Regions from separate parts of the Homo sapiens genome. Here region 1 is linked to region 2. Evidence: promoter capture Hi-C in 16 types of primary human blood cells and fetal thymus (Javierre and others, 2016). All regions are on one chromosome and are shown on one strand. The core of a region is centred on a gene start or on the middle of the fragment in contact, and the rest is flanking DNA. Distances in the headings are between cores, read along the strand shown.

Evidence for each region. The method cuts DNA at HindIII sites, captures the fragments that hold promoters and counts their contacts. A CHiCAGO score of 5 or more calls a contact.
Region 1: a fragment that was not itself captured here is called in contact with the fragment with the promoter of NOVA2 in region 2 in 1 of 17 cell types (endothelial precursors); the score reaches 5.5 in endothelial precursors.

What each region holds. Positions count from the first base shown.
Region 1 is chr19:45,926,887-45,929,726 of GRCh38, forward strand. No RefSeq gene overlaps it. Among named protein-coding and RNA genes, the nearest start is that of NANOS2, 14 kb to the left of the region's middle. RefSeq lists enhancers at 80-580, 886-955. The HindIII fragment of the contact is 1,055 bases long and covers 1,026-2,080 here.
Region 2 is chr19:45,972,505-45,975,204 of GRCh38, forward strand. NOVA2 (NOVA alternative splicing regulator 2) reads right to left here and starts at 1,361. Exons shown (of 4, transcript NM_002516.4): 1 at 763-1,361. The coding sequence starts at 847. RefSeq lists a silencer at 1,527-1,686. The HindIII fragment of the contact is 31,968 bases long and covers 1-2,700 here.

The DNA.
Region 1 (2,840 bases), core at 303-2,802, 45 kb before region 2:
GTCAATTACTTCTGGCCAACTGAGGGCCCTACTCTGCTCCAAACCGAAACCATAATCCCCCACTGTGGCCACTCCAACTCTAGCCAGTAACTCACCGGTCTCTTTCGGTTCACGTTGCCTACCTGGAGGTGCTTGATCTTTCCACCTGCAGGGAGAGCAGCTGAGAAATGCCAAAGCATGGGTCCTGTTCCTGGCTTGTCTGTGGAACTACGGGACACCCATGTCTTACCTCTCCCTCCTCTTCTTCCTTAGGGATCTGAGCTTCTGGTTCAGCTGAGAGTGGGGTGAAGGTCAAGAGGGAGATCCCCGATAGTAAGGTTGGAACTGAGGATGAGGATAATGGTGAGGCAGGGGGCTATGAGAATTGGCACTGGTCATACAGGTGGTGACCAAGAAAAAGGACAGAGAAGGCCATAGAGATGGAAGAATTGAAATAAAACGAGCGTGGGGGCCAGGCACGGTGGCTCGCCTGTAATGCCAGCACTTTGGGAGGCCGAGGCAGGTGGATCACCTGAGGTCGGGAGTTCGAGACCAGCCTGGCCAACGTGGCAAAACCCCATCTCTACTAAAAATACAAAAATTAGCCGGGCGTGGTGGTGGGTGCCTGTAGTCCCAGCTACTCGGGAGGCTGAGGCAGGAGAATCGCGGAGGTTGCACTGAGCCGAGATCGCGCCATTGCACCCCAGTCTGGGCGACAGAGCGAGACTCTGTCTCAAACTAAACAAAAACAAAAACAAATTCTGGAGAGTGAAAAAGATGGGGGGGAAAATCAAACCAAGGAGACAGAACACACACGAAGACAGCAAGTGAGATTATACATGCACGTAAAAACAGAGATGGACAGAGAGAGAGGGCGTGCAACCACGTGGAGGAGGTGTGGCGCCTCTCAACATCTATTCCACTCTCCTAGCGCACCTTCCTGCGACTGCAGCGGCTGGAGGGCTCAAAACTACGTTTCCCAGAATGCCTTGTGGCTGCGCATGTGGCCGGAGGTTAGGTTCCACCAATCAGGTGCCTCCGCGGGAAGCTTGAATTTCTTACCGAAGTAAGCTGGGCGAGAGGCAGCCCGAAGGCCAGTGCAGATCCCGGCGAGAGGCTGCGGCGGTGGAGCCGGCTGGCGGCTTCCTGATCGCGCAGGAGGAGCAGCGGTTCCTGGACGGCCCTTTCTGAGCGCTGGATTTGAGAATGCCCTGGAGGCTCAGCCTAGATTCTGTTTCTTCTGAGAGGCTCTGTGTCCCTTAATAAGTCCTTTTTGCTTACACTGTCCCAAGTGAATTCTGTTCGCGCCTCTGAGCAACGATGGGTACACAGACAGGGAGAAATAGATGCAGACACGGACAGAGACAGGGAAAGTGATTCAGGGAGACACACAGAGACCCCATCCCTGCGAAGAGACAAGGAGAAAGACAATTCTGCAGAAGTGGGGTGGAGATGCAGGAAAAAAAATCAATGGGAGAAGGAAGACCTGGTTAGACAGACACTCAGAGAAATACGGAAGATAACAGGCAGAGAGGAGTGAGAGGCAAGGGCAGGTGGGCCAGAAACAGGGACACGGAGACCTCACCAGAATGCTGGCGTGAAGGTGTTGGTTGAGAGGCCTCATTTTAAATATTTATTTATTTATTTATTTAGGGACGGACTCTCGGTCTGTCGCCCAGGCTGGAGTGTAGTGGCGCAATCTCCCCTCACTGCAACCTCCACCTCCGGGTTCAGCAATTCTCCTGCCTCAGCCTCCCGAGTAGCTGGGATTACAAGCATCTGCCATCTCGCCTGGCTAATTTTTGTATTATTAGTAGAGACGGGGTTTCACCATGTTGGCCAGGCTGGTCTCGAACTCCTGACCTCAGGTGATCCGCCCACCTCGGCCTCCCAAAGTGCCGGGATTACAGGTGTGAGCCACCGCGCCCGGCCGGAGAGGCCTCTTTAGAGAACAGACTTCTCTGAAGGCATGGCAGTTGAAGGCAGGAGAATGGAGGGGACTTTGGAGAAATCTCTGACTTGCTAGACTCTCTGATTTTGGTGGCAGCGAGCATTTGCCTGGCAGAACGTCTCTTTGTCCCAGCACCTATTCCCAGCCCAAAGCTTCATCAGCTCTGACTGCGGAGGGGGTAGTGCCCCTGAAAGTGTTTCCCATTCTCCATCACTTGCCCCTGAGGCCTTGTCCCCCAAAACCAGCCCCCACTTGACAGCTTGGTAGGAGTGAGAACAGTGACTCAACTGGTTTTAATGTGTGAGGCAGATTCCAGGAGTAGTGACTGACTGAGGAACTAAGAGGAGTTGGGGGTGGCGGGAGGGACAGAAGGACTGCAAAACAGGGACACCAACGAAAAAAGAGAGGGAAACGTAGGGACAGAAAGCAGGGAGCGTGTGAGGCAGGGAAAGTGGAGACTGAGAAACTAGGGGCAGAGAGAGGGAGGGATCCAGGGGCTGAGAGAGGGGACAGAGGGGAGACAGAGGTGGGGGGCAGAGGGACAGAGAGGAGGGGCAGAGGAGGGGGACAGAAAGACAGAGAGGGGGAGGATGAACAGAGAGAAGGAGACAGAAGGACAGAGAGAGGGAGACAGAGGGACAGGGGGGACAGAGGGACAGGATGGGGAGCAGAGGGACAGAGGGAGGGAGGATGGAGGAACATAGAGAGGGGACAGAGAGATGGGGGGCACAGAGGGACAGAGAAGGGTGACAGAAGGGCAGAGAGGAAAGGGATACAGGAGTTACGGGCAGTAAGCTGGGCATGCCCCAGTTGGGATTCCAGATGGTGGACGCCTCGGCTCCTTTAACCAGTTCTCCTGGCTTTTTTTGTTGCCCCTCAGATTTCTTTTTGTTTTCCTCCACCTAAGGTT
Region 2 (2,700 bases), core at 111-2,610:
GCCCCCTTGGGGGTGACAAGCACACACCTTTCCTTGTCACACGTACCCGCTGGAGGGTCTCAAACATGGAGCCCAGCCCCTGTCCCCTGTCTTTCTCATACACCCCCCTATGCTGTCATATTCCTGATCCCTAATGTCACACATCCAGGCTGTAGAGGGCACACATACACACACACGCACACACATACACACCTGTCCTAGCCTCACATTCTCCCACCTAGCTTTACACACCCACCATTTCCTCCATTTCACCCCACACACCTACCCAGCCTGTCCCCACGCACGATCCGGCCAGGGCCACACAAGCCTCCATCTGGGACAACCCTTGTTCAGGACATCCCCAGGGAGGGAGGCTGGGAAGCTCCCGGTCCACAGGCCTCTACTCCTTCCCCTCCCCCAGCCAGGACACGCGAGCTCGGGGAACACCCCTGCTCCGAAAGGGTCACATCACACACCCCTCAAGGACACACAGACACCTGCCCTGAGGCTCCCACGCCCCCCATCTTCTGCGCCCCCCAAGGACACTTATCACCCCCTCCCCCCCACCCCTCTCCTCGCAGACAAAGCTCCCAGCCCCGGGCCTCAGCGAGAGGAGGAGGGGGTCCAGCCCCCTCCTCAACTCCCCGCTCTGTCCCCCGCCTCGGGGAGGGGTGTCTCTCCCCTCCCCAGAGCCCTTGCACCTGCCACGGGAGGGGGGGAAAGGATGGAGAAAGGCGAGGCCCCCTGCCCGCTCCCCCGCCCCGAGCCGCAGCCCTTTCTCACCTCCCGTGTTGCTGCGCTTGGTGCAGACCACCTCGGGGGGCGTTTCGAGGGGCCTCTTGCGGGAATCCGGGGCCTCGGGCTCCATGGGGGGGGCCTGGGGCGGCGGCTGCTGCTGCTGCGGCGGCTGCGGCGGCGGCGGCGGCGGCTGCTGTGGCGGCGGCGACGGCTGCTGGGGAGGCTGGGGTTGCGGCGGCGGCGGCGGCGGGGGCGGCGGCGGCTGCGGGGCCGCGGAGGCCGTGAAGAGGCCGTGCACCGCGCCGGCGGCCATCATCCTCATGGTGGGGGGGGGCGGGGGGCGGGGGGCGGGGGAGGGGGAGGGGAGGGGAGGTGGGAGGGGGAGGGGGCGGTGGAGGGATGGGGGAGGGGGAGCCCCGGAGAGGGAAGGCGGGGGTAGGGGGGAGCCGGTTCTCGGGGGGCTGACAGAGCCTGGAGAGCGGCCGTGAGCAGGATGGCAGGGCCGAGGGGGGTCTCCGATAGGGCCGGGAAAGAACTGAGAGGTGGGGTCTCTCCTGGGACCACAGAGGCTGGGGACTGGACGCGCCACTGGGGGGACGGGACTCCCCGCTTCTTCTTGGCTCCCTGGGGCAAGAGGGCCGAGCCCCCCAGACCCTGCTCGGGGTGGGGGGCCGGAGGAGCGTGGCCGGAGTGGGAGGCGGAGGCGGCCGCTAGTGGGGGCCCGGGGGGCGGCGGGCGCGGGCGGCGGCGGCGACGGGGCTGGCGGTGGCTGCTGGCCCGAGCATCTTCTTCCCGGAGGCTCCCACAGCGCCTGGCCCCTCCCACCCAACGAGGTCACGCCCATGCCGGGTAGGGCCACGCCCTTCGGCGCCCCCATTGGTCCAGCCTTGAAGCCTGGACCACGTCCCTCTGGGTTGGCCACGCCCCTCCCGGCGGCAGAGAGCTGGACCCGACTCCCCCAGGCTGCTGGGAGGACCCCGGGCTCCTCCAAGCCGTCCCCACTCCTCACCTTGAATGAACGTTTATTGAGCACTTACTGTGTGCCAGGTCCGGTTCCAAGCAAGCACGTCACAGACGTTATCGCATTTACTCCCCAGAGCGACCAGCTCTGTGAGTTACGCTTATTATCCCTATTTTACAGATGAGGAAACAGCCTTAGGAGCTTACTTTGACTTCACTTGGTCAAGACAAGAAATTTCGACTAGGCGCGGTGGTTCATGCCTGTCATCCCAGCACTTTGGGAGGCCGAGGCGGAAGAATCACTTGAGCCCAGGAGTTTGAGACGAGCTGGGCAACAATATTGTGAGACCCCATCTCTACAAAAAAAAAATTTTTTTTTTAATTAGCCAGGCGTGGTAGCACATGCTTGTAGCCCCAGGTACTCTGGAGTCTGAGGTGGGAGGATCTCTTGAGCACAGGAGTTTGAGGCTGCAGTCAGCCATGATCAAGCAACTAGATTCGAGCCTGGGAGACAGAGCAAAACCTTGTCTCAAAAAAAAAAAAAAAAAAGAAAGAAAGAAAGAGAAAGAAATTTCACTTCACTCTTTTTCAATCCTTTCAGCTGGGAAATTCCCCTTCAAATCTTTCATCCATCCTTTGAAGAATCAACACCGTGATGCTGAAAGGGCTCAGAGGATTGAATTCACTGAGCTGGAGTTGCAGCCTGCAGCACCTGCCCTGGGGCACAACTGGCTCTCCATTCAAACAACAGCACTCAGGGCCTACCTACTAAGTGCCAGGCACTGTCCCTGATGCTGCGATACAATAGAGAACAAAACAGCCTTGGCCCTTGTACAGTATTACTACTCATGTCATTAAGAAAAATTTGTTTTCAGATGACAAAGTGGAGGCCTGGGAACATTGAGGGTGGCTTCTTCAAGGGCACACAGCTTGAGAGAGAGAAACTGGGATGAGAACGCAGGACAAGTCCAATTTCAGAGCCCAAAGTCATTGGAACTAGGGTGCCTTTCTTTGGAATGGATC